6 separate regions of the Homo sapiens genome follow, and regions 1, 2, 4, 5 and 6 are each linked to region 3. The links are contacts of gene promoters, found by promoter capture Hi-C in blood cells and fetal thymus (Javierre and others, 2016). All regions are on one chromosome and are shown on one strand. The core of a region is centred on a gene start or on the middle of the fragment in contact, and the rest is flanking DNA. Distances in the headings are between cores, read along the strand shown.

Region 1 (4,594 bases), core at 143-2,642, 530 kb after region 3:
CAGGAGACTAGATCGGTATCACCAGGGAAGGTGTGACGAAGAGGGAGATGGTCATCCAAAGTCACAACTCCCAGGAATGCCCACACGTATGAAAAAGGCCCACATGTATGAAAAAGGCCCACATGTATGAAAAAGGGAGGACTTCCAGGAAGGGAGGGATGAGCAGTATCACAGCTAACATACACTAAGGCTGACACAGTTCAGTTCTGACCAGGAAGGGCCTGAATGGAAGCAACACGAGAGATCCTCCAATGGGGTGGAAGCAGGGCTGGAGGTACCAAGAATGGGATAAGGAAGTGTGGCCGCCTGCCTTAAGCAACTGTAGGGTCAGGAAGGCAGAAGAGGACAAAGGGCGTATGTCGTGAAGTTCCACTGTGGATAGGCAGGTGGACTTGCTTCATGCCTCAGAGGCTAAGAGGCCGACTACGTACCCTCGAAATGCTCCAAAGAGCCTAGGAGACCCCACTTCCGGGTTCCTACAGGGCTCAGGAAAAGCCCCTACCTGCTTCGAAGGCTGACCGTGAAGCCACAAGGCCCACTTCATACCAGGGAGTACCCCCACTCGCCCCTTCCTCACCTCGGGCCCCCGCCCCGTCTCTTTTTCCCACCCTCATCGTGTCCCCACAACCCCCGGACATCCCTCGGCCCCGCGCCCCTGCGGCAAAGCCACATCTCCCACCGACCCACTGCCCTGAGGCCGAACAGCCGGGGGTCCCTGGCCGGGGGCCCGGCTCTCTCACCATCGCGGGCGCTGGCTGGGCCGGAAAGCGGAAGTACGGAAGTGGCCAGCCCCGCGATGCCTGCCCTTTCGCGAGAAGCGCAGCTACGGTCTCCGCCCGGACTTCCGGACGGTACCATCTATGCTCCGAGCGGGGTAGAGAGCCCTTACGAACGCTTGGGCCTTCCGGAAGTTTTCCACCTAGGGCTGTCTCGGTATTTTTAAATTCTTGCACTCGAGTCACTATTTAAGCTCCTCCAGGAATGGGTGCAGCTTCCCTTTGTGCCTTCGGCCTTCTTGTCACCTTTGCCACAGCCTCCCCCAGGTATGCAATGGTACAGCCCAGCTTCAGATTGGGCACCAAATTAGGACAAGCCGAAGCGGACGAGCCCTTCGTTTCTTCCGGTTCTGTACCCCCATCCTTTCTCTCGCCCCTCCTACCCGCAGCTCCTGGCGCTCGGCGGGGCTAACTGCAGCGCGGAGATCTCGGCCGCCAAGCTCCGCCTCCCGCCCCGGGCTGTGCCCCGGGGCTCGCCTGAGGCCGACCACCCGCACCCCACCTCTAGCGGCTTTGCTCGAGGCCCACCTTCTTCCCACCCCCGGCAAACTCCAGTAGGCTCGCCCTCGCTGACTCCCCGCCCCCGCGTCAACTGCAAGGGGCCCGCCCATAGCCAGTTCCGGGGCGGTTGCTCACATCGACCGGAACTCCCCGCCCCCTCCCGCGGCCCCTGGGGCCGTAGGAGGCCGCAGCGAGGAGGTAGAGGGGGCGGGGGTCGCACTAGGGTGTCCCTAGAGAACGAGGACTCTGAAGGCGGGACATTTGGGCGACCCCCGGGCGGGGCCAGCCATTAAACAGTCCCACTTCTGTGCCAGACACTGAACTGGGCTCTTGACGGGCATCATCTCTTAATCCTCAGAACATCCCAGGGAGGTAGGTACTATTGTTATCCCCATTTTTCAGATTCAGACTTTTAATGGGGAAACAGACCGAGACTTCTTTTGTCCCCATTTTACAGATGGAAAAACTGAGACTGAAAAAGGTCAAATAACATGTTCAGGGGCATATAAGTAGAGAATGGTAAAGCCTGGGCTTGAACCCAGGTCTGTCTGGCTTACCAGCCCACGTTCTAAACCACTGTTAGTGACTAGAGAAGGGAGAAAGGTGGAATAGGGTAAGAAAAGAGGCCAAGAGTCCCAGAGAACATGGTAAGAATGGGGTGCTTGGAACTCAAAGTCTTAGCAGAACCCAAGAGAAATAGAAGGGAAGGAAAGAGCATCAGAAAGGCGAGGCAAGGCATAGCAGTATAGCATGGTGATCAGGGTGCAGACTCAAGACTAGCGGGGTTCAAATTGCATCTTGGAAGCATAGGCACATACCCACCCTTACAGAGTCTCAGTTTCTTTCTCTGTAAAAACGAGATCACAATGGTCCTTGTTCATGGTGCTGAGTGAGAAATTCAGTGAGATAAACTGATAAAGTGCTCTGCACCTAGCTTGGTACCCAGTTAAGTGCCCTGTGAGTAGGAACTGTGCCATCAATTTTGTCAGTAAGGGACTGAAGCTGGGCTTCCTTGAGGCTGTCCCTGGAGGTAAGAAGCCCTTGGGCTTTTCTCAGACCACTTTGTCTCCCATCAATGGCCCTGTCCTCTCCAGCTCCACAGGATCCCCATATCCTGGGCCATGAGTGAGTTGAAAGACTGCCCCTTGCAGTTCCACGACTTCAAGTCTGTGGATCACCTGAAGGTCTGTCCCCGCTACACGGCAGTGCTGGCACGCTCTGAGGATGATGGCATCGGCATCGAGGAGCTGGACACCCTGCAGCTGGAGCTGGAGACCCTGCTGTCTTCTGCCAGCCGGCGCCTGCGTGTGCTTGAGGCCGAAACCCAGGTGATAACCCCAGAGAGGGGCCAGCACCAGAGATGGACTGCAACAAGTTATGGGATGGGTCATTGAGTTAGCCCCATATGCTGAGACTTGGGGTACAGGGGTTTGTGGGGAGAGGGAGAGAGACGCAAACTGGGTTTGCATGACACAAAAAATACACAAGAATATGCATGATCCTCTTAAATTGCAAGATTTCTAATTCAGTAAGCTTTTATTGGCACCCCACTCATCCCCCATTGTGTTCTGGGTCCTATGCTAGTCATTAGAGAAAGGTAATTAGGACAGTTATGGCTGTCAGGGAGCTTGGCAACTAGGAAAGTGAGAAAGTCAAGTACATACCAGGTGATGTGATGTTGTGGTTAGCAGTCCTAGGGAACTGGAATGGGGAAACCTGGATTTGAATCCTGGCATAAGCGCTTGCTAGCATTGCTGTTTCCTAGCTATGTGACTTTGAGAAAGTTGCCTCATATCTCTGAGTGTCAGTTTCCCTATCTGCAAAGTGGGGTGAATAATAGGACCTACCTTAGTGCTTTTGTGAGGATTAAAAGAGAATTTTTTGCAAAAACTCAGCCCAATGCCAGACACTAAGTAAGTACTTCAGATGTTATTTATTTGCTACTCTGATGACTTTATTCACTGCATAAAGATGCCTTGAGCCTTGTGTGCCAGGCGCTATGCTGTATTCTGCAAAATAGAGATGGTTAAGGTGGGCTTTCTGGTCCTCAGTAGCTTATGGTCTAGTTGAAGAGACAAGGTGTGATGGTCATTCCAGTGTGACCAAACAACACGATTGGGTGCACGTTGGAGCTGTGAAGTGCCAGAGACTTGTGGAGGAAGGAGGTGCCAACTGGACCTAAAAGGATGAATGGAATTAACTTGTCCCTGGGAATCCATGGACCCTCCTTGAGGAAGGCTATGACTCAAGTTGTATTTTAGCATCTAAGAACCTGGGTAACTGATTGAGAGAAGGCATCTCAGTAGTGGTGACATCGAAGTGAAGGTTTGCTGAGAGGACTCTTCTGTTAAACAGTATGTGACTGGCATGGGTGATACAGAAGTGAATCAGTATAGATGAACAAGTGAATGAGATTATGAGAAGTATATGAATAAAGTTCTAGGAGGCCAGGCACAGAAAATGAGCTGAATTTTGAAGGATGAGTAAGAGTTTACTAGGTAAAAAGAGGATGGGGAAAGACCCAGGAGCCTCTGTAGATTCTAGATCCTAATTTATTCACTAGAGGAAAGAGATATTCTGTGTTTTCCCTTCTCCCCCTCAGTGACACTTTCTGTAAATTTCAGATCCTCACCGACTGGCAGGATAAGAAAGGTGACAGACGATTCCTGAAGCTGGGTCGAGACCATGAACTTGGAGCTCCCCCCAAACATGGGAAGCCCAAGAAGCAGAAACTGGAAGGGAAGGCAGGACATGGGCCGGGCCCTGGCCCAGGACGGCCCAAATCCAAAAACCTTCAGCCCAAGATCCAGGAATATGAATTCACTGATGACCCTATCGACGTGCCACGGATCCCCAAAAATGATGCCCCCAACAGGTTCTGGGCTAGAGAACATAGAAGGGGGCCTCAAGGTTCTGGTGGTGGAGGCACTGGTGGGGCAGGGGCGCCCACTCAGGATCTGCTTCTCCCTGCAGGTTCTGGGCTTCAGTGGAGCCCTACTGTGCTGACATCACCAGCGAGGAGGTCCGCACACTTGAGGAGTTACTGAAGCCCCCAGAAGATGAGGCTGAGCATTACAAGGTAGAAACTCTGGGCCTTGATAGACATGATGCGGAACAAGAGAGTTCAGAGGTGCCTGAGAAGTAAAGCTACCAAAGCCATGCATCATCTTCCTTCCCCAACCCTGCCCAGTCTGCTGTCTGCTCCATCAGTGCCTCCAGACACCTAGGCCCAAACTCAGCTTTCTCCGTGCACTGCCTCCCCTCTACCCCAGCCAAATGTCAACACGCCCTCAAGCATCTACTTAAGTGAAGTCTGC
Region 2 (4,730 bases), core at 1,868-4,367, 670 kb after region 3:
GGGTGAGCCACCACGCCCAGCCAACAAAAAATTTTTAATAGAGATGGGGTTCATGTTTCCAGGCTGCTCTCGAACTCCTGGGCTGAAGCAGTCTACCTGCCTTGGCCTCCCAAAGTGCTAGGATTACACGCGTGAGCCAGTGTACTGGCCCTCTTCCCCATTCTTTAGCCATAGACTAGTACCTACAAGCTCTATTCCATGCAACCAGTAAAAGCTGCAAAGTCTCTTTATACACAACTTGCTGGTGAAATAGAAGAAACAGCTCCCCCTAAAATTACTTATTTTGATCACAGTTCAGAGAAAAACACAACAGAAAAAAGGCATAAGAACTGTAACATCAAGAAGTTTGCAAGAGGGCCAGGCATGGTGGCTCACGCCTATAATCCCAGCACTTTGGGAGGCACCGAGGAGGGCAGATCACTTCTGATCAGGAGCTTGAGACCAGCCTGGCCAACAGGTGAAACCCTTTCTCTACTAAAAATACAAAAATTAGGCTGGGTGCAGTGGCTCATGCCTGTAATCCCAGCAGTTTGGGAGGCCAAGGCGGGCAGATCACGAGTTCAAGAGATTGAGATAATCCTGGCCAACATGGTGAAACCCCATCTCTATTAAAAATATAAAAATTAGCTGGGCATGGTGGCGGGCGCCTGTACTCCCACCTACTGGGGAGGCTGAAGCAGGAGAATCGCTTGAACCCAGGAGGCGGAGGTTGCAGTGAGCCGAGATCACGCCATTGCATTCCAGCCTGGGCGACAGAGTGAGACGCCATCTCAAAAAAAAAAAAAAAAATTAGCCAGGCATGATGGTGCATGCCTGTAGTCCCAGCTACTAGGGAGGCTGAAGCAGGAGGATCGCTTGAATCCAGGAGGTGGAAGTTGCAGCGAGCCAAGATCGCACCACTGCACTCCAGCCTGGGTGACAGAGGGAGACTCCTTCTGAAAAAAAAAGTTTGCAAGAAGTTAGTCCAAAGGTAGTGAGTTATCTCAATCGATTGTTCAGTTACAGATCTAACTCCCTGTTCTGCCTGAATTGTTATAAATACATATAAATATATATACATCTAAGTTTGCAGGAGATCAGAAGGCCTGGAGAGATAATTAAGGCCAGCCGCAGCCAATATGAGGTGTAACTTATGCTAACCCTAATCTTCAGGGTCATGTAAGTTGGAAGAGGGGTCCAGAAAAACCAATGACCTACAGCCACTCAAAAGACCCTTACTGGCCAGGTGTGGCGGCTCACGCCTGTAATCCCAGCATTTTGGGGGGCTGAGGTGGGAGGATTGCTTGAGCTTAGGAGTTTGAGACCAGCCAGGGCAATATAGCGAGACCATGTCTCTAGGAAAATAAAGAAAAATTAGCCAGGCATGGTGGTGTGTACCTGTGGTCCCAGGTGCTTGGCAGGCTTAAGTGGGAGGATCGCTCAAACCCAGGATTTCGAGGCTGCAGTAAGTCATGGTTGCACCACTGCAATCCAGCCTGGGCAGCAGAGCGAGACCCTGTCTCAACACAAAAAACAAAAACAAACAAACAAAAAAGCCAGGCGCGGTGGCTCACGCCTGTATCCCAGCACTTTGGGAGGCTGAGGTAGGCGGATCACCTGAGCTCAGGAGTTCAAGACCAGCCTGGCCAACCTGGGGAAACTCCATCTCTACTAAAAACTACAATAATTAGCTGGGCGTGGTGGTGGGGTCCTGTAATCCCAGCTACTTGGGAAGTTGAGGCAGGGAGAATTGCTTGAACTGGGGAGGCGGAGGATGCAGTAAGCTGAGATTGCGCCACTGCACTCCAGCCTAGGCGACAAAGCGAGACTCCTTCTCAAAAGAAAAAAAAAAAAAAAGCAAATTCCAGGATCCCACCCCCAGAAATTCTGACTTGGTAGGACTGGGTGGGACTAAGGAATCTCTGTTTTCACAAAGTATCCCATAAGCACAAATTTTAAAAGTACCCCAGATGATCATTAAACAGGTGGTCCCCAGACTATACTTGGAAAAATTACTTGGCCATTTGGAGAGTGAGGAAGTCCAATCCTTACTGAAGTCTTCCCTGGGTTACTTCAGAGACTACAAGATGCCAACTACAGAATAGCAACTCACGGTAATCTCTGAGGTCAAATCAGAGTTCTGTGGTGCAGGATGGAACAGAATTCCACTGGAAAACTTGGTGCTAAAGCTGCCAAAACCACGTGGGGGAATGAGATGGCAGGGTCGGCAAGATTCCCACCGCACTGCCAGCCAGTGCTTAGGGTGGGGATGGCCTGAGCTGACAGGAAGCCCTCCAGGTCTGGCGATAAGACGACTGGGTGGAAATCCCAAAGGGAGCAAAAAGAGGAACGGAGACCTGCTTTAGATAAAGGAACTGAAAGGGAGTGTGGGTTGTCTTCCTGCTCTATAGGGGAAGGAAAGGGATGGGCCTAAGTCATGCTGAGACCTTATAAGGGGGCAGCACACTGGGTTCACCTCCTGGCTCCATTCTGACCTCTGACCCCGAGGAATCGTCTCCCTATTTTTCTTAGCTTTTTCTTGGGGCTTTTTCCCTGACACAACTCATCCTACGGCACCTGAAGCAGGGAATAGACCTTCCTTAGGTCCTCCTCTCTGATCTTTGAACCTGGCCCCTCAGCTTGATCTCTCACCTCCAGACCCCTTCTCAAACAAGAAGGACCTCTTTGCTGGGCTCATTCTGACCCCAGTTCCTCCTTTTATGGTTGTCAAGACCGACTCTTATACTCCGGATACAGACCCTGGAGAACTCCTCTCTCTCTCTCCTCTTCCTCAGCGGCGAGGTACCACTCCTACCTTTTTCTGACCCCTGGCCTCAGCCTTTCCTCTGTAACTTCCCAAGTTAGGAGCCTTCCCCAGCTCATCGCACCTCCAATCTCACCTTAGAGCCGCCGGTCCCGCTGCCATCCTTGGCCCGGTACTGAGTCCGGGAGAACTCCTCCAGCAGCTCCCCAAGCCCCAGCTCCTGAGGCGGCTGGTTGCCTGAAGAGGCCGAGGACCCCGCCGAGGCAGCGGCGGCGGCGGCCCGAGCGCCGGCCATGGCCCAGCCCCGCGTCCCCTCAGTGTGCCTCAAGCGGGCCCATGGCACCTGCCTGCACCCAACTCCGACACTAGAACCTCCGGAACCGCCTCAGCCACCGCCTTCTACTTCCACTTCCACTTCCGGCCCCGCCCCGTCCCGCCGGATGTTTACTCCGACTCTGGCCAATCGGAGCTCTGGACCCGCGCCCCGCCTACGATTACTGGCCCGCCCCCGGCGCAGAGCGATCCTTCTATCCACCAGGGAGGCCACTGGCTGATACCGCGTGATCCGCCCCAAGGGGTTTCCCCCGGGGAAGCCGGGCTCAACCATTGGGCTGCCGGGGGAGGGGGGTAGCAGGAAGGAACCATTGAAAAGAACCAGAGGAAAAGTGGAATCAACAATTACAGGGAAGCCGAGCGTGGTGGCTCACACCTGTCATCCCAGCACTTTGGGGGGCCGAGGCGGGCGGATCACTTGAGGCCAAGAGTTCGAGACCAGGCTGCCAAAATGGTGAAACCGCATCTCTACTAAAAATAAAAAAATTAGCCGGGCATGGTGACACCCACCTGTAATCCCAACTACTTGGGAGGCTGAGGCAGGAGAATCGCTTGAACCCATGAGGCTGAGGTTGCAATGAGCCGAAATCGAACCACTACACTCCAGCCTGGGTGACAGAGCAATACTCTGTCTTAAGAAAAAAAAAAAATTACAGGGCGAGGAGGAGAGAACGCTTGGAGGCAACAAATTAGTACTAGAAACCATAATGGCAGTGGTTACCAATATTAAAACATTTCAGCCGGCCGCGGTGTCTCACGCCTGTAATCCCAGCACTTTGGTAGGCCGAGGCAGGCGGATTATGAAGTGAGGCATTCGAGACCAGCCTGATCAACGCAGTGAAACCCCGTCTCTACTAAAAATACAAAAATTAGCCGCGCGTGGTGGCAGGTGCCTGTAATCCCAGCTACTCGGGAGGCTGAGGCAGGAGAATTGCTTGAACCCGGGAGGCGGAGAGTGAGCCGAGATCGCGCCACTGCACTCCAGCCTGGGTGACAGAATGAGACTCCGTCTCTAAAACAAAAACAAAAACACAACATTTCATAAAACCCTTTCTCCCCCTGCTGCTCACAACATCCCTGTGAGTACAGTGCATTATATCATCAGCCCTATTTTATTGAGGTAGAAACTGGGAGTCAGGGAGGTGAAGCGACTGCCTTGAAATTCTGTGATGAGAAGCCTCTCATTATTATTATTATTAGAATATTTCAGACATTCGCAAAAGTGGAGACAATAGTATAATGAACCCTCATGTACCCATTAACTGGTTTTGAACAATAATCAACATCTGCTTATCTATCCTGTTTAAGCAGTCCCTTCCCATCCAGGGAATTATTTTAAAGCAAATCCCAGACATCACATTATTTCAGCTGTGAATACTTAAGCATTTATCACAACAGATTTGTACTTCAAAAAAAAAATACATAAAAAATATAAGGCTATTAACATGCCTAAGAAAATTAACAATATTCCTTAATGTGGTCTAATACCCAGTCTGAATGAAAGTAATTCGTTTTTGTTAAACTTTTAATAGAAGTATGATATGTACACCAGCGCCCCGGAACCCTCCTCCTGACCACTTTCAGTCACTACCCACTCACCAACAACCACCCACCACCCTGCCCCCCCAACTCCTCCCACCCCCAGTTAATCACT
Region 3 (4,329 bases), core at 1,252-3,751:
AGAGGGGTAAGGCAGAGGGAAGCCTGGCACCTGAGGAGTCTGGACTTCACAAACCTCTGCTGAACATTGGCAGAGAAAGAGAATATGCCCAGACCAACAAGTAATCCCTAAGGTTGGCCCAAGGGTTGAGAGTTACACACACACTCACACACTCACACAGCTCTTCTTAGGTTGAACTGATCCCCAAATCAAGCGCCATAGGCCCATCTGACTTCCATACGCAGTTTCATATCCAAGGGTTCATTTAATCCCAATATCAACCTTCAGAGGAGGTATTATTATAATTCTCACTCAAAAGAGCAGGAGACAGCATCTCAAAGAGGTGAAGAGCATGCCCACCTGGTAAGCAGGAGATCCAGCACTGATACCTAGCAGTCTTGATGCCAGCATCTGTACTCTAAACTGCCATATTACAGCGCCTTATGGGCCAAATACCTTACAGCAAATACCTTAATGAATAAGATACAGTTCTGTTGCTTGTCACAAATCCCCAATCTCTTCAACATCAGTGTCTACACAAGGAAATTCTTTTAATCACAATTATGCCTGATGCATTATATTTACATCTAATATGCCCTTGTCCTCATTTTCCACTCAAAGAAAGTGAGGCTCAGAGAAAAGTGACTTGGCCTTATCACCTAGAAAGTCAGTGGTGCAGCTATAGAGCCAAGGCCAGAGCCTGTTCCTTGAAGAACAGGAGATCTGGCAGGACGCAGCGGCTCACACCTGTAATCCCAGCACTTTGAGAGGCCGAGGAGAGTAGATCACCAGAGGTCAGGAGTTTGAGACCAGCCTGGCCAACATGGTGAAACCCCATCTCTACTAAAACTACAAAAATTAGCCAGGCATGGTGGCACATGCCTGTAATCCCAGCTACTCAGGAGGCTGAGGCAGGAGAATTGCTTGAACCCGGGAGGTAGAGGTTGCAGTGAGCCAAGATCATACCACTGGACTCCAGCCTGGGCAACAGAGCTAGAGTCCATCTCCAAAAAAAAAAAAACAAAAAAAACAACAGGAGATCCAAGAGATCCCCTGAAACCTGCCTTTGTTCCCTGCTCTAACCTAACCACCACCCCCTCACACCCCTGCAACAATTTCTCCACTAGAGGGCAATAAAAAATCTTGAAAGCTGCAGTGGGGTAGAAGAGTTGCCCAGAGGCCTGGCCCTTAATTCTAACACCCTACTCCCCTGGCCTCCCCTCCAAAGCTCCTTGACAGTTTGGGTCTATCACATTCTCTGAGCCTTAACATCTTCCTTCAAGCAGTGACCATCTCCAGCTAGGGTCCTTACTCCCAGTTTCAGCAGAGGAAACTGAAGGACTGTGACTTGCCCAAGGGGAGCCAAGGCCTCCCCCAGCTCATCTGCCTCCTTAATGTCACAAGGGGCCCAGGGCTAGACCATATGTGGCTGAGGCGGGGAGCCCAGGCTCTGTCCTCCAGTGTGGCATTCTCACTGCGCTTGTGGGGAGCCTTCAGCTGCCCTACCTTGTGAAGCCAGAGACCTGGGGTTGGGGACCCTGAGGATTAGGTCTGGGGCTCTAGCTGCAGGAGCCTGGCTGAGATCCTTCATTGCCTAGGGGGGTCTCCTTGATGGGACTTACTCAGGACCCCAGGGGATCGGTTTGGAAGGGGCAGTCCTATATAGGGGTTAGGGATGGCAGGGCCAGAGGTCCCAGCCTCTGGCGAGGGGCATTCCCTGGCCTCCTCTGCCCTGGTCCCAGTCCTTGGGTACTGAGAGGGAGACTACAACAAGGAAGCACTAGGACAGTCTACTTACTCCTAAGATGTCACTCATCCTACAACATTCATCATAAGACCAGTCGCACCCAGAGCCGTAGTGAGGCGGGTGAAGCTGCAGATAGATAGATGATAGATAGATAGATAGATAGATAGATAGATAGATAGATAGATAGATAGATTTTTTTCTTTTTTACAAGAGTGTCTCTCTGTTGCCCAGGCTGGAGTGCAATGGTGCAGTCACGGCTCACTGTAACCTCCACCTCCCGGGTTCCAGCGATTCTCCTGCCTCAGCCTGTAGCTGGGACTACAGGCGCGCGCCACTATGCCCGGCTAATTTTTGTATTTTTGGTAGAGACGGGGTTTCACCATGTTGGCCAGGCTGGTCTCGAACTCCTGACCTCAGGTGATCCACCCCCCAGCTCAGCCTCCCAAAGTTCTGGGATTACAGGCATGAGCCACCGCGCCCGGCCGATAGTTATATTAATCCTTTCTTTCATTTATGGATCTCAGGAAAAGGGCAGACTTGGTCGGGAGAGTAGACCCACCAGAGCTTCAGATTCCAAAGCCCTCCGGGTCAGGGTAACTGCGGCAACCAGAGCCCCAGCCCTCTGGTCTCGCACGTCACTGGAGGATAGGGGCTGGGCCACGGGAGGGCGGGGCGCGCCCTCTGGAAGGCGCGGAACTGCTGTGCGAGCCGAGCGCGTTGCTGCCCGGAGGCTCCTACGCCACGGCCCGTCGGGCCCGGCGCCGGAAGTGAGCTGTTCCGAGGCGCCGCCGGGAGCTGCCACGTCCGAGACCTGGAGCAGCCACCGCCGCAATCATGGTGAGTGTTGGTACTGAGGAGGCCTAGCAGGGTGAAGGCCACGGTCGCGGCCTTCACGGGTTCCTCGGCCGTCCTGAGTCCCAAATCCCAAGCTGGAGCCGTTCAGCTCCCCTCCACCGCTTAGAGATTTGGGGGGCTCTGGCCCCGTCCTTGCGGACCATTCCGAGGGGAGTCCAGAGGTGAGGCCGAGGAACCTCCCTGACTTTGCGGGGCGCGCCGCTCCTGCGTCTCCTGCCAGTCTCCCTTCCTTCTTTTCGGTCAACAATTGAAAACAAAACGAGGAACAGCAGAGGAGCTACTGTATACCGAGCCCTCAGCATTGTTCGTAATCTCCGCCTGCTAACAGCCTTGTGAAGAAGGTGCTATTCTTCTCAACACTTTACAGATGAGGACACTTGAGGTTCGGAGACGTGGAGCCTCTTGCACAGCTGCTTAAGTGGTAGTAGAGCCGAGATTTGAACCCTCCTAACCATTCCTTTCTGCCGCCTACTGCAGCTCCCAGCAGAGATGATTGAACTGTTGCTCGGGGTAGGGCCCCCAGGTAGGATGGGCACCTCGGGAAACGTAAAGATGGCCTGAACGACCCTCCGAAGGCAGGGGCTCAGGGTTTTTTAAGTCTCTGTGGCATCTGCAGTGTACATTCACTCCACACTTACTCCTTGAGTGAATGAATGACTGAAGGAGAACTAAAGAATGGAAGTATCTGGGCTGAGCCTGGAATATCTAGTACATGCATTCTTTTAGAAACATGGGTGTGTCTCAGCAGCAGGTTTGAGGGAACCTGCAGGAACCTAGAAATCAGAACACTGTGTTCTTGTTCTGCAGAGGGTTAGGTGTAAATCACTCACCTCTGGCTCTTCCACTGCAGGTTAGAGTTGAGGCTTTTATGCTCTGACATTCAGCTCATCCTAAATGAATTTTTAACTCATTATCTGATCTCAAAGAGGTGAATTATTTTGAGTGCAGGTGTTAACAGGGACCAGATAATACCAGGTCCCTGGGAAGAAGTACTCTAAGAAGTTCTCTCTCTCTCTCTCTCTCTCCCCACCCTCCCTCTCTCCCCACTCCCTCTCCCTCCCCCCTTCCTCTCCCTCTCCCTTTCTCTCTCTCCCCCTCCCTCTCTTCTCTCTCTCTCTCCCCGCTCCCTCTTCCTCCCCCCTTCCTCTCCCTCTCCCTTTCTCTCCCGCCCTTCCTCCTTCCTTCCGTCCTTTTCTCTCCCCCTCCCTCTTTCCTCCCCCCCCCCCCCCCCCGCCTTCTCTCTCTCTCTCTCTCTCTCTCTCTCTCTCTCATTCAGAAGTGTGGTTCATCAACCCTGACTGGTGGGTGAGAGTGGTTAGAATTAAATGCTGATTATTTCTAAGGTCCTTTGGTAACCTGGTTGAAACTACCTCTCAGTAAACTTTCTTCGTGAACCTACTTAACCGCAGCTTTACAGAACTCAGTGTAACAACTGCTTTACATTCTAGACAGGCAGCCTGGTGGAGTGAAGTTTTGTGGACTCAGCATTAGAAGGTTAGGGGATGGGGCTCTTTTCCCAGGTCTGCCTTGAACTAGCTCTGTGACTTTGGCAAGTGCTTTCTCTTCTCTGGGCTTCTTCATTTCCTTAGTCTGTCGCAGGTCTCTGATTGACTGTGCCCTTGGTACCCTGCCCTCCCCGCCTTCCTGTGCACTTTGTAACCTATACAGCTCGGCACATGGAGGAAACTCCTTATTGTCCTTACTTGCCTTTGCAGACTTCGGGGACCTGGTTTTTAGAGAGTCTAGAA
Region 4 (4,772 bases), core at 2,164-4,663, 550 kb after region 3:
AACAGGGTTTCACCATGTTAGCCAGGATGGTCTCGATCTCCTGACCTCATGATCCACCCGCCTCAGCCTCCCAAGGTGCTGGAATTATAGGCGTTAGCCACCGCACCCAGCCACTTTTTTTTTTTTTTTTTGAGATGTAGTCTTGCCGTGTCACCCAGGCTGGAGTACAATGGTGCAATCTCAGCTCACTGCAACTTCCATCTCCTGGGTTCAAGCAATTCTCCTGCCTCAGCGTCCCAAGTGGCTGGGGATACAGGTGCATGCCACCACACCCAGCTAATTTTTGTATTTTTAGTAGAGACAGGGTTTCACCACGTTGGCCAGGCTGGTCTTAAACTCCTGACCTCAGATGATCTGCCCACCTTGGCCTCCCCACGCCTGGCCCTTCACTCACTTTTTGATTAGTACTTTGAAATGTGCTCATCGGGACTGGGGGCTGCAGAAGGATGTATATGTATACGCATCCAAAAAATCTGGAAGAATTGTACTAAAAATGTGAACACTGGTTGTCTCTGGTTGGTGGGGGCCCGGCTGAGAGTGTTGTGTTATTCTTGCCTCCCTCGCACCCCTAATTCCTTTGGACAAGATACCTCTTCCATTCCTTATGGCTGCCCATTACAGTACACTTGCTCAATATAGCACCCTAATTCTCCTGGCAACAGTTTTGGAGGCCAAGGGGTGAACATGTCACTCTATCACTCAAGCAGAGCCAGAGTCCTTCCCTGAGAATGAGATAGGAAATTGGGAGGATGCTTTCCTTCCACTGTGTTTAATTGGAAAGCTGGGGCTGCCTCACTCCATGTTTCCTGCCAACTAGAAGTTCACTCTGGAGAGAAAAAGAGGCCAACGTGTGAAGAAAAATCAAGACAAGGAGAGAGGAGGGAAGACAGAGAAAGCAAATCCTATGAGTACTACATCTCCAGTTCCAGTCTCCAAGCCCCTAATCTCTGGTGTTTTTCCTGCAATCTTGTGCCAGCTATTGTGAACTATAGATTCCTCTTGGATGAAGCTGGTTTAGGTTGGCATTCTGTCACTTGGGAAGCGAAAGAATCTCATCAGTTAGTCTGTGTGTGTTTTCAATACATTATGGAATTTTCCTGCAATGACCATGTATCACTTGTTCAATAGAAATACTAAGAAAGTAAAGATAATGTGTTTGTTAAAGAAAAGAAAACACGAGGCCTCTCAGAAATGCTCAAAAGCAGGAAAAATGTAAAGCACACCATAGAAGCTGTACAAGTCAGCTGGGCGCGGTAGCTCATGCCTGTAATTCCAGCACTTTGGGAGGCTGAGGCAGGTGGATCACCTGAGGTCAGGAGTTCGAGACCAGCCTGACCAACATGGTGAAACCCCCATCTCTACTAAAAATACAAAAATTAGTTGGGCGTGTTGGTTCACGCCTGTAGTCCCAGATACTTGGGAGGCTGAGGCAGGAGAATTGCTTGAACCCAGGAGGCGGAGGTTGCAGTGAGGCGAGATGGCACCATTGCACTCCAGCCTGGGCAACAGAGGGAGACTGTCTCAAAAAAAAAAAAAAAAAAAAAAAAAAGAAGTTGTACAAGTCCTCGAAAGGACAGAGGTCATCTTATCACCCAGGGGGTGTTGTCATCAAGATGAACAGGAATTTGTGGTAAAAGAACCCCTAGCTCAGTGGGTGTGCTTGGTGGGTATAGGGGAGAGTGGGGGCTCAGCCCTGAGCAGGAAATGTATTTTTCCATGAACTAAGGAGTCTGAGATACTGAGATTTGGAAGATGGATCCCTTAACCCCTCATCCCTGGCCAAATCAAGTCCTCTCTCTGAGTCTCAGTTTACACTGAGTCTAGCTCTCATGTTTTGAATAGTGTTCTAGGCACTTCATATCATTATATCATAGAATTCTCAGAACTCTGAGTCAATCTTCAATATTCCCATGTTCCCGAGTAAGAAACTGAGGTTCGGAGAGGTAAAGCATGACCAGGATCAGTTAGACTCCAAAGCCTTTCCAGGAACCTCAGCTATCTTCCTCTCTCATCTGTAAGATGGGCATAATAAATTGGCCAGGTGCAGTGGCTCATGCCTGTAATTCCAGAACCTTGGGAAGCTGATTGGGGAGGATTGCTTGAGCCCAGGAGTTTGAGACCAGCCTGGGCAATATAGTGAGATCCCCATCTCTACAAAAAATAAAAAAGCCAGGTGTGGTGGCACGCACCTGTAGTCCCATCTACATGGGAGGCTGAGGTAGGAAGATGACTTGAGCCCAGGAGTTTGAGGCTGCAGTGGGCCGTGATCATGCCATTGCACTCCAGCCTGGGTGACAGAGCAAGACCCTGTCTTAAAAAAAAAAGAAAAAGAAAAAAAGAAGAAGAGAAAGAAAGAAAAAAGAAAGAAAGAAAGAGAAAAAGGAAATGAGCTGGGCATAAGCACTGTTCTCTCCCCATCACCAGCTGGAACATGCAAGAATTCAGGAGTAGGGAGTGGCACTTGGAGGCCCTTGGAGGTGGAGTGGGGTCCCAAGCAACGTGCCTCCTCCGGCTGCCCCCAGTTCAGCCCCATCCCCAATTCCTGCGAGTTGCTCCCCCCGCCCCCTCTTTCCACTCGGCACCAAATTTCTTCCCAAGGAAGGCCTTGAGCAAACCGACCTTTGGCCTCTTGCCTGCCGTCCTAGTTGCAGGCTCTCTCCCCTAACCTGGACCCCAGCCATCAAACTCTGGAGCCCCGCCAGTCACGTGACACCTCGGTCCTTTTTGGCCTGTTTCCTTCAGGATCCCGATTTAACTTCCTCCTCCCCAATTCCCTCTGCCCCCAATACCTCTAGGCACCACCACCCGCTCTGAGGAGCAAGTGTCTGGGGCTGAAGCCTCAGCTCCATCTTGCAGAGGAACCGGGGCCTCAGTCTTCCCACCTGTCAAGTGGGGCCCACACCCTGCGACCACCTCCACTCTCTTCATTGCCTAGTCTTGCCCGGTCCTTCCCCACTCCCTCACTCCCCCATCCCCCACCAGACTCCCGTGCAGTTCCAGGGCCTGTTTCCCTTCAGGGCACGGAGAAGGGAGACAGAGCCCTAAGGGAGGTCGCAGAACTGGTCTGAAAGAAAATCCACCAGGCCACAGGGTGAGTTTGGCCGGCCTCTAGCTTCAGACAGACGGGGTTCGAATCCTGCTTTGCTTCCGACCACCCGCTGATTTGAAAATCATCTCTCCGGGCCTCAGTTGTCCCCTCTGTGAAATGGACCCCGCTTAAGACCAAGGGCGGGAAGCGTCCAGCAGGAGATCTCTGACCAGAAGCAGGGAGATGGCCTCCACCCGTGCCCCTTCCCCAGCCTTGGAGCGGTGCCTCGCCTCCCAATCCCGGGTCCCTCCGCCGCAGGCTCCACCTCCACTGACATCAGAGCCGCAGGCGGGCGGAGAGAGCCGCCGAGCCGAGCCGAGCCCCAGCTCCAGCAAGAGCGCGGGCGGGTGGCCCAGGCACGCAGCGGTGAGGACCGCGGCCACAGCTCGGCGCCAACCACCGCGGGCCTCCCAGCCAGCCCCGCGGCGGGGCAGCCGCAGGTACAGCCGGGCCCCCCATCCCTGCACCCCTGGGCGCTGCGTGGGGGCGGTGGGAGCCCCTAGCCTCTGGGTATCCTTTCCCAAGGAGTGGCCACTGGGCACTCTCCCGGGCGGGCTGGACCCTGAGGGGCAGGGCTGGGCCTTTCTCCACCTCTGTCCCAGGCCCAGCAGGTGCCAGGCGGGCCTATGGGACACTGAGTGGGTAATAGAGAAGGGGGCCTGTGTGAGCGCCTTCAGCTGGGCCTGACTGGAAGGGCGTGGGCATTTGGAGGTATCCATGGGGTGGGGGGGCTTGCGGAGTGTACTGTCTTAGGACAGGCGTGTGGGTCAGACATGGGTGGAGGATCTGGGAATCTGTGTGTTTTTTGTTCCAGAGGGGTGTCCACGTGTTTTGTGTGCTGGTATTTGGCTCTCAGGGTCTTAAGTCAGAGTTAGGAGGGGGTGTACAATTGTGTACTGAGGATGTTTGGAGTTAGGTGTGTAAGGACTTGGGGTTTGGTTTGGAATACAGGAGCTTCCAGGGGATGGGGTAGAGGAGCTGGAGGGTGTAGGGTACGTCTGGTATATGAGGGTGTGTGTGTGTGTGTCTGGGTGTCATCTTGTGTGGGTGCGGGTGGATGTGTGTTTTGGGGTGTAAGAGGGAGCTGGGTGAGGGATGTTTGGATGGACAGGCAGGTGTTCGGGTGCAGGGCTGTCTGGGGCACTGTGTGGTGTGGACATGTGTGCTGATGTCTGGGAGTACATGTATGATCAGGTGTCACGGGATGTGGATACAAGGCGTACTGGATCTGGGAGGCAGGTGTTTGAGTTCAGGGCTGTGGAGGGGGCTTGGTGTGGCATGTCTGCTACAGGGATGTGTGTGGATCTGTGAGGGTTGTATTTGGTAGGCCTCCATGTGGGTTTCAGACTCTGCCTCTAGAGCTTACACTCGAGTCTCCTTTCCTAGAAGATTCTGCCCCTGGATGGGTGGGCAGGGTCCCCTGGGAAAAAGGTCCTGTTCCAGGAGTGGAATCTCACACCAGAGGCCCTAGTCAGGGCACCTTCTCCTCATTCTCCCTTAGAGAAAAAGAGAGAAGGAAAGTGCTCTCCCTGAGGTCACAAAGCATGCTGGGCTCTGTTTTGGCCTCATCTGTGGATGGGTTGGGAGGCTGTGTTCTCTGAATGGGGCCCATTCTGGCTTCATATTGGAAGTACCAGCCAAGGCCATTCGATGGCCTTTGCCCTCAGCAAGCTTAGCTGGGGGC
Region 5 (4,404 bases), core at 920-3,419, 960 kb after region 3:
CTGTTTGCTCAAAGCCAGTAGGTACAGTGGCTCCAATAGTGACTAGAAGCTCAGATTCACTTCCGAGGTCACTTTCTGTCACTTGTACAGACTTCTGGTTCTCATGAAGGTTCACATCTAGGAGTTGGTTAGTGGCTTCTTCAATGTCACACATGTTGGCTGTGCTTCCAAGATCCCTAACACTGTCTCTTTAAAAGCAGTACTGTCCTTTAAAAGAAAAAGAAATAAAGCCCAAATATTATCATCTCATATTTCAGTTATAATTAAAAACATGGGCTCTGGAGGGCAGGAAGAACAAGGCAACACATCTGATAAACAGTCACCAAAGTAAAAAGGGTTGAATAAACATGGGCACAGAGTGCAGGCTGTAAAACATGATGTTATTATTAAAGAAGCAATACAGATACCATGGGAGAAAAAGAGACAAGAAGTATTTCCATAGCATGCAATGTTTGCTTTGGGGTAACCCATGTTGACAAAAGCCATTTCATAACTACGACAGAAACTGCAGATCACATTCAAATCCATTTCTGCATCTAGATGTTAAGAACATGGTTAGTTAAGAATATAGGGCTTGGCTGGGCGTGGTGGCTCACACCTGTAATCCCAGCACTTTGGGAGGCCGAGGCGGGCAGATTGCCTGAGGTCAGGAGTTCAAGACCAGCCTGGCCCACATGGTGAAACCCCGTCTCTACTAAAAATACAAACATTAGCCAGGTGTGGTGGTGGGAGCCTGTAATCCCAGCTACTTGGGAGGCTGAGGGAGGAGAATTGCTTGAATCCGGGAGGTGGAGATTGCAGTGAGCTGAGATCATGCCACTGCACTCCGGCTGGGGTAACAGAACAAGACTCTGTCTCAAAAAAATAAATAAATAAATAAAATAAATAATAATAATAATAATAATATGGGGCTTTTGGAGTTTCAGATAGATACAGGTTTGAATTCTTGCCTCCACCATCATAGGTTGAATGACTTATGGCAAATTAATTCTCCCAAACCTTCAAATGTAATTAAGTAATTAGTAATACCTCTTTCCTAGAGTCGTTAGGAGACAAGTGAGAGTAGTACCTGGTTAGGCCAATAATTAAAACTTATTAATAGGCTATCTATCTTCTTCCCTCCTGTGAAATAGCATTTCATGCATTTAAAAATGATTAACTGGGCTGGGCACACTGGCTCATGCCTGTAATCCCAGCACTTTAGGGAGCTGAGGTGAGTAGATTGCTTGAGGCCAAGAGTTCGAGACCAATCTGCGTAAGATGGCAAAATCTCATCTCTACCAAAAACACAAAAAATAGCTGGGCGTGGTGGTGGGCGCCTGGAGTCCAGCTACTTGGGAGGCTGAGGTGGGAGGACTGCACTCCAGCCTGGGTGACACAGTGAGGCCCTGTCTCAAAAAAAAAAAAAAAAAAAAAGAAAAAATTAAAAATAAAAATGGTTAACTGAATACTTACTATCTAATGATTACAAATGTTCAAACGCCTACTACTTGCCAGACTCTGGGATCCATAGATGGGCATCAGGAGAGAGATCTTGGAAGTAATCCGAAATAGTAAAACAAATTTCCTATGCATAAGCTTTTGTGTGTGCTTGGGGTGGGGGCCGGGGGAAGTATTAGAGAGGTGGAGGGGCCATAGCTTACACGAGATTTTCAAAAGGTCTGTGACTCAAAATAACTTAATTGAGTACAGAATACCTATAATGTCCTTGTGCTGTGCCAGCGATACACGACAGTGTTTAACACTACGTCAGTTCCCGCCGTTAAAAAGCTGACAGTCACTGTGAATACAATCTCCATCTTCTAAAAAATGCAGCTGAGGTCAGCTAAAGGACGCGTTCCGCACAAGGTCAGAGAGCCAATGAGAGGCGCAGAATGAAAGAGAACTCACGTCTCCCAACTCCCACCTACAGGGCCCGGGAATCCTAGGGAGCGGGTAAAGGCCTGGGAGAGGGAGCAAGATGGGCTCCGCCACGAGATCCGCCTGAAGTCCGGCTCGGCGCCGGCCTCAACTGCAAGAGGAAGGCCACCCCTCTCTCCCCAAGCTGAAACACCAGAAGAGCCACACTCGGCCGTTCCCAACCGCCGCCAGTTACCGGCCGCCAGCGAAGACCCTTTCAGCTCCCACACTCCATTGGCCTCTTGCGGTCAGGTCACGCCGCCGGAAGCCGCCCCCGGAAACGGAAGTCAGGCTACGAGTCACGGTGGCTCCGCGCTGGCGGCGGGTTCCCCCACAAGGTCTTGGGGAAAGGAGCATGCGCTGGAAGCTGTGTGCTGTTGGTTTTGAGGATCTTCAGTAAGCTGAAAGCGGAGAGTCAGGGGCCTTGTGTCCTACCATGGTATTTGCTAACGTTTAGAGAGTGCTTCCCCTTGCCGAGCACTGGGTAAGCGCTTCACATGCGTCATCTCATTTGGAACAAGTCTCTTTTGTTCTAGCACCTATGAAGTGGCAGAGACTGATTTCTGTTTTAAAGCTGGAGACACCGAGTCTCTCCAGCTTATTTAAATATCTTTCTCAAAATGTCATGCCACTAGTTCCTGATTTCTGTATTGCCATCACTATTTTAGCACTGTTTACTTCATATTTTTCTTTAGTTTAAAAAAAATAGAAATAGTGGGGCTCACTATGTTGCCTAAGCTGGTCTCGAACATCTGGGTTCAAGTGATTCTTCTGTCTAGCCCTCCTAAAGTGCTGGGATTACAGGCATGAGCCACTGTGCCCAATCAGATGAACTTTATTTCTCATAAAGGGTTGAACCTGGCCGGGCACAGTGGCTCATGCCTGTAATCCCAGCACTTTGGGAGGCTGAGGCGGGTGGATCACTTGAGGTCAGGAGTTTGAGGCCAGGCTGGCCAACATGGTGAAACTCCATCTCTACTAAAAATACAAAAGTTAGCTGGATGTGGTGGCCTGCACCTGTAGTCCTAGCTACTTGGGAAGATGAAGCAGAAGAGTTGCTTACCCAGGAGGCAGAGGTTGCAGAGAGCCAAGATTGTGCCACTGCACTCCAGTCTGGGAGCAAGACATCATCTCAAAAAAAAAAAAAAAAAAAAAAAAAAAGAGTTGAACCTGCATGGTAGCCATTTTGACAGACTGGGAAGCCTAGCTTCCAGTCAGAAGCCAAAAACAGGCACTTCCAGGGTTGGAAGAATAAGACAGGGATTTATGCTAAACACAGTGGCCAAATATACATGTTAAATAAACTGTAAGAGGGGTCACGAATATTTATGAAAGGAGCAATTTGTGCATGTGCAGTTGAGCTTCATGCCTCTCTGTGGATCCCATGTTTAAAAAATGGTGGCCTTAGCATGATCCAAGGGTAGAGTTTTCTACCGCTTGACTTCAAAAGGTGAAGCAGGGGATGTGAAAACCCTCACTGCACGTCCTCTGTCGACTGGCCAGAACCACTCCCTGGATGGTGGGTGATCTCTTATCAGGAAGGAATGCTAGTCGGTTGTTCTATTGAAACTGCAAATGGGAGGGTCAGCATCAGGCTGGTGGAGTGAGTCTTTCAAAAGGGCTGGTTTCTGTTTAACCCTTAGGAAAGAAAATCTAATGGCGATTATAGAGGGAGGGGTTATAAAGAGGTGTGTCCGACTTCCCATCCTGTCATGAGTAGGAACTCAGCTTCCAAGTTTTTTCTAGGGTCTCCTTGGCCAAGAGAGGGCCTGTTCAGTCAGTTGGGGGGCATAGAATTTTATTTTTATTTTTCAGTTGACAAAAGTTAACTTATTGTGAAAGGAACCCAACAACAAAAAGATAAACCGAATTTAAAACAAAACAAAACCAAAAAGAACACAATTTATAAATGTGCAAAGGGGCTGGGAGTGGTGGTTCATGCCTGTAGTCCCAGCGCTTTGGGAGGCTGAGGTGAGTGGCTCGCTTGAGCTCAGAGTTTGAGACTAGCTCTGGCAACATGGCAAAACTCTGTCGCTACAAAAAAATGACAAAAATTAGCTAGGCATGGTGACACTCACCTGTAGTCCCAGCTACTCGGGAGGCTGAGACAGGAGAATAGCTTGAGCTGGGGAGGTTGAGGCTGTAATGAGTTATGATCACATCACTGCACTTCAGCCCAGGTGACAGAGTGAGACCTTGTCTCAAAAATAAAATGAAAAATATGTAAAGGGCTTGAATAGATATTTCTCCAAAAGATGGACAAATGGCCAATAAGCACATGAAAAGATGCTGAACATCATTAGTCATTAGGGAATTGCAAATTAATCACAATGGGATACTCATCAAAATGACTAAAAGTAAAAAACAAAAAATCAACAGTTCCAAGTTCTAATGAGTATGTGGGGCAATGGAGCACTTATACATTGCTGATGAAAATACAAAATGATATATGCCCTGGTATGTTTTAGCTCTGTGACTCCACCTAAATTTCATCTTGAAGTATAC
Region 6 (4,202 bases), core at 534-3,033, 620 kb after region 3:
GGGGCCTGAAGAAGATGGGGTCTGGGTCGAGGGTTGGGAGGAGTTCTGAGAGTCGTTGAACACATCTAAGTGCCTCCTGTGCGCTCCGCCAACCCTCGAGGAAACGTTTGCTCACCGGTTTGGAGATGTTGGTTTTGGAGTCCACGTTGTACCTGGGAAAAGAGTGGAACCGGTGTGGGGTGGGGCTGGGTGGGGGAGAGGGTGGAAAGGGGTCGGGCACCGAGTCTTGGTGAAAATTTTGGGTGGAGGGATGGGCGGCCGTGGACCCGAATTCAGCTTTGGTCTCCTTTTGGGGAGGAGTCAGGGTGGGCTGAGTAGTCAGACGGTCAAGCCTGGGCCGAGGCCAAGTCAGGGGCTGCTGGGGGCAGGGTTGTGTGGAAGGGGTCGGGCCTGAGGTGGAGCTGCGATAGGAGCAGAGTTGTGGGCGGGGCCAGAGCGGGGGACGGAACTGGACCGCATCTCATAAAAGGGCAGGGCTCAGGCTAGAGGGGGCCATTCAGAATGGGAGGGAGGCCTGCGAGAAGAACCAGGCCGGAGGCGAGGCGGGGGTGGGGCCAGCCAGAATTCCGGGCGGATCCAGGTCGGGGGCGGGCCAAGCCAGAATTCCAGGCGGGGCCTCACACATCGAAGCGCAGATTTTGCTTTTCCTCAAAGAAATAGTCGAGGACGAATTTGCGCACGAAGTCTGGGTTCAGCGTGTTATCAATCACCTCGGTCCGTCCGAACTGGGTAGGGGGGTGGAGGGTCAGCGTGGGACGTGCAGACGGGCAGGGGAATTCCCGGGCGACGCCCTGGGCCGGGAGGGGGCTCTGGGACTCACCTCCCGCCACTCCTGGCTGGCCCGGCTCTGCGTGTAAAGCACCACCACTGCAGGTGGGGGCGGGGAGGGAAGGACGTCAGGTCGGCTCCCACCCCTGGCCCCGACTCCACCCGCCCCTGAGTCGCGCCCAGACCCCAAGTTCCCCCTCCCGGTCCTGGAGCCGCCTACTGGGGTCGGACTTGGAGAAGGTATCAAGGTCTAGCAGGTTCCTAGAGAAAAGCAACAGACAGACAGAGTGGATCATCCTGGAGTCCGCCCGCCTCGAGTCGGCTCTGAGCCGGGCACTGAGGAGAGGCATGGGGCCCGCATCGAACCTCTGTCCCCCATGGCTACCCCCAGCCGGGGTCCGCTCTGTCAGCACTCTGGACAGCACCGGAAATCGCTGTCCAGGAACCATGGCTCTGCGGACTGGACGCGAACGCACCCACACTGTCTCCAAGGGCCCAGGAAAGAGGGCTCGCCCCAGAACTTTGTCCTCCTGGGGCCGAGCTCCTACCGGATATCTGCGACCCACCCCCTGAACCCGCAGGCTGAGCCCTTTTTTCGGGGTGGGGCTGCCCAAGACCCCCCGCTTCTCGATCCCACCAGCTACTCGCCCTGTCATCAGCTGTGATTTTCCAGCCAATTTCGCCTCTCCCCGGGGGTCTAGCCCCTGCCCAGGCTGAGCCCCGCGGCTGGCTGGGGCTGGGGCAGTGCCAGTGCCTAAGCCCTCCCCAGCGCGGCCCGCTCACCGGCAGGACACGGTAATTTCAATCTTGGTGGCCGGGACGCTGCGCTCGGAGGCTCCGCCGAGAGACATGGCTGGTCGGGCGACCAGAGCCGCAGGAGGCTGCGAGACCAGGGCTGCTGGGGCTAGGGGCGACGGCAGCGGCGGGGCCGGCCCATGTGCCGCGGTGTCGGCGGCGGCGGCGGCTGCACTCGCTCCAGCCCTGCGTGCGCTCCAGCCGCTCGCGCCCTGACAGTGGCCGCCGGCGGCAGCGGCTCCAGATGGCAGCACAGCCCCGCCCGGCCCTGCGGGCGGCCCCCGCCCCATTGGAGCAGCCTGGAGCCAGCGGGGAACCTCACCCCGACTCCCAACTCCAACCCACACCTTGGTAGAGTCTGCCCTGCGCAAGTCTCTGGGGTGGAAACCCAAGCCCCCTAGAGTTGTCCATGATGCTGAAACATTTGGGGCACCTGGTGGGCACTGGAATTGTTGCCTCTTACTGAGCCACTCCCTTAGTGTTTCTGTCTTTTCCCACTCCCAGCCTGCCTAGGTCTCTGAATAGGAAAAGTACATCTCTTAGTAGCTGTGTGACCTTGGACAAGTTACTCAACATCTCTGTGGCTCAACCGTGAAAGGCCGTCAGAAAGGCCTTTAACAGCAGCTACTTTAGGTGCTGTAAAATTTTACTGAGATAACCCAAGGAAAACACTTAGCACACAGCAAGTGCTCAGTAAACATTCACTGGTATTTATGATTTGTCCTCTGGGTATTCACAATGATGACAGTAAATGGTGGCTGTTGAGCACCGTGCAAAGCTGTCTGCCCATGCCTTTAACCCTCACGACTTTCATGGCGTTACAGATGCGGACACACTCTCATGACGCAATCTACTGTAGGTTACACTGTAGAAGAGGGTGGTGGTCAGCCAGGCTCTCACCCACCACACATGCACACCAATTGCTATCTCCAAAGCTTCAGAAGCCAGTCCTTCCTCCATAGGCAGGGCTCAAGGTAGGGGATGCAGGTCACCCGTACCAGGACCCTGCTGCCTACAGAACTTGTTAAAGATGAAGATCCTGGTCAGGTACGGTGGCTCATGCCTGTAATCCCAGCACTTTAGGAGGCCAAGGCAGGCAGATCACTTGAGCTCAGGAGTTTGAGACTGGCCTGGCCAACATGGTGAAACCCCATCTCTACTAAATACAAAAATTAGCTGGGGATGGTGGCACGTTCACGTAGCTACTCAGGAGACTGAGGCAGGAGGATCGCTTGAACCCAGGAGGCAGGGGTTGCAGTGAGCCAAGATTGTGCCATTGCACTCCAGCTTGGGTAACAGTGAGACTCCATCTCAAAAAATCTGAAAAAAATGAAGATCCTCCAGCTCCTAATTCCCAGGCAACTTCCTTAGCAACCCTAAGGCTAAAGCTCAGGCAGCCCTGGGAATGTGCACAGCTCATCAGGCTCTCTAGGTGACTAGGACCTGCTTAGGCCCGAGAACCACTACTCTCAACAGTCTTGAGTGTTGTCCCCACTGCAGGGACTACCATGGCTCATGAGTGGAGAGGTATACCTGTCGCCAGTTCTCTTCCTGTTTCACCTGCCCTCCACATAAAAACCCCTTGTCCAGCACAAGGAAGGACAATGAGAACCTTCCTAGTAGCTCCACAAAGACAATAACCAAATGATGACACAAGAGTGGCTATTCAAAAAGACTTTGATTTTATTTTGTGATCTGTGTCAAACTGCCTCATTCTCAGTGCAGGTGATCCCTCCTCCCCAGAAACAAGAACTGACAGGTAGGGTCTTTGTGAAGTCATGGCTTCCACAAGGCCCCAGGGAAACCCCACACAGTTCTGAGAGTTGATGGGAATCCCAGCAAAGATGGGGTGGGTGGGAGACAGTGACAAGAAGGGGTGGTGGTCACCAGTCAAGAGGCTGGGGGTTGGAAAACCCTGTCTTTGGCCTTGCTCAGCTTTGGGGCTGCCATGTTCATGATGGAGATGGGGGACTGAAATTTCCCCTGACCTGGAAGTACCCCTTCGGCCAGGCATGGCTTTGATTCTCTGCTAAGGGCTCAGCTGAGAGAGGAGCAGGAAAATGTCATGGGCTGGCTTCTTCACAAGGCATTGCTGCTGATGCTCCGGAGTCCAACACCACGGGCAAATTGCTCCAGCAGGCCCCCGATGGCACCGGAAGGACTGGGGGCTACTGCCCGAAGCCCCACTGTGCTGCTGTACGCAGCCAAGAAGGCTGAGCGCACCTCCTGCAGCCGAGTCTCTCGATCACTCAGGGCTGCAAGCCTATGGGGAGGTCAAGAGAAAGAACAAAGACATTACCCTGGGACAGGACCCAGTATCCTCATCCTCCCTCCCTCCATACCACCTGTCCTTGTGCTTCTTCTGACTGTACAAGGCCAGTGTCTGTCCTACGGCCATGCTATCCTTGTGGTTCAGGCCCCAAATATCTGGCCCTGTTTTCCCTTAAACCATTCCTCTAAGCCCTCAGGCTACTGTTCCCACCTAGAGCAGGAGCTTTTACTGGGACACTAACCTTTTTTTTTTTTTTCTTGAGACAAGGTCTCACTCTATTGCCCAGGCTGGAATGCAGTGACACAATCAGCGCTCACTGTAGCCTCAAGCCATCCTCCCACCTCAGCCCCTCAAGTAGCTGGGACTA

Evidence for each region. The method cuts DNA at HindIII sites, captures the fragments that hold promoters and counts their contacts. A CHiCAGO score of 5 or more calls a contact.
Region 1: a contact is called between the fragment with the promoter of TADA3 here and the fragment with the promoter of SEC13 in region 3, in 6 of 17 cell types (activated CD4 T cells, naive CD8 T cells, total CD4 T cells and 3 more). The highest score is 7.5, in activated CD4 T cells.
Region 2: a contact is called between the fragment with the promoter of MTMR14 here and the fragment with the promoter of SEC13 in region 3, in 1 of 17 cell types (monocytes). The highest score is 5.5, in monocytes.
Region 4: the fragment with the promoter of CAMK1 here is called in contact with the fragment with the promoter of SEC13 in region 3 in 2 of 17 cell types (monocytes and total CD4 T cells); the score reaches 6.2 in monocytes.
Region 5: the fragment with the promoter of THUMPD3 here is called in contact with the fragment with the promoter of SEC13 in region 3 in 10 of 17 cell types (activated CD4 T cells, total CD8 T cells, total B cells and 7 more); the score reaches 14.9 in activated CD4 T cells.
Region 6: the fragment with the promoter of CPNE9 here is called in contact with the fragment with the promoter of SEC13 in region 3 in 1 of 17 cell types (monocytes); the score reaches 5.5 in monocytes.

The regions. Positions count from the first base shown.
Region 1 is chr3:9,789,271-9,793,864 of GRCh38, reverse strand. It overlaps TADA3 (transcriptional adaptor 3), which reads left to right and starts at 1,392. Exons shown (of 9, transcript NM_006354.5): 1 at 1,392-1,649; 2 at 2,372-2,605; 3 at 3,902-4,152; 4 at 4,251-4,356. The coding sequence starts at 2,399. ARPC4-TTLL3 (ARPC4-TTLL3 readthrough) reads right to left here and starts at 1,317. Exons shown (of 12, transcript NM_001198793.1): 1 at 741-1,317. The coding sequence starts at 743. ARPC4 (actin related protein 2/3 complex subunit 4) reads right to left here and starts at 783. Exons shown (of 6, transcript NM_005718.5): 1 at 741-783. The coding sequence starts at 743. It also overlaps a transcript of OGG1 not described here. RefSeq lists enhancers at 118-207, 407-933, 908-1,007, 934-1,460, 2,565-3,065 and silencers at 1,138-1,427, 1,488-1,577. The HindIII fragment of the contact is 10,858 bases long and covers 1-2,812 here.
Region 2 is chr3:9,647,892-9,652,621 of GRCh38, reverse strand. MTMR14 (myotubularin related protein 14) reads right to left here and starts at 3,117. Exons shown (of 19, transcript NM_001077525.3): 1 at 2,880-3,117. The coding sequence starts at 3,038. RefSeq lists silencers at 2,953-3,052, 3,153-3,262 and enhancers at 3,134-3,303, 2,590-3,485, 3,293-3,522. The HindIII fragment of the contact is 16,951 bases long and covers 1-4,730 here.
Region 3 is chr3:10,319,284-10,323,612 of GRCh38, reverse strand. SEC13 (SEC13 homolog, nuclear pore and COPII component) reads left to right here and starts at 2,501. Exons shown (of 9, transcript NM_183352.3): 1 at 2,501-2,563. The coding sequence starts at 2,561. RefSeq lists a silencer at 2,266-2,345 and enhancers at 2,193-2,788, 2,536-2,835. The HindIII fragment of the contact is 12,357 bases long and covers 1-4,329 here.
Region 4 is chr3:9,768,588-9,773,359 of GRCh38, reverse strand. CAMK1 (calcium/calmodulin dependent protein kinase I) reads left to right here and starts at 3,413. Exons shown (of 12, transcript NM_003656.5): 1 at 3,413-3,528. It also overlaps a transcript of OGG1 not described here. RefSeq lists a silencer at 3,463-3,642. The HindIII fragment of the contact is 10,493 bases long and covers 1-4,761 here.
Region 5 is chr3:9,360,819-9,365,222 of GRCh38, reverse strand. THUMPD3 (THUMP domain 3 tRNA guanosine methyltransferase) reads right to left here and starts at 2,169. Exons shown (of 10, transcript NM_001114092.2): 1 at 2,096-2,169; 2 at 1-207. The coding sequence starts at 154. It also overlaps a transcript of SRGAP3 not described here. RefSeq lists enhancers at 1,720-1,779, 1,800-1,879, 1,950-2,009, 2,230-2,439. The HindIII fragment of the contact is 4,632 bases long and covers 1,581-4,404 here.
Region 6 is chr3:9,701,414-9,705,615 of GRCh38, reverse strand. It overlaps CPNE9 (copine family member 9), which reads right to left and starts at 1,783. Exons shown (of 21, transcript NM_153635.3): 1 at 1,552-1,783; 2 at 989-1,029; 3 at 821-867; 4 at 622-725; 5 at 116-152. The coding sequence starts at 1,619. It overlaps MTMR14 (myotubularin related protein 14), which reads right to left. Exons shown (of 19, transcript NM_001077525.3): 19 at 3,223-3,826. The coding sequence ends at 3,643. RefSeq lists an enhancer at 1,234-2,144. The HindIII fragment of the contact is 18,760 bases long and covers 1-2,500 here.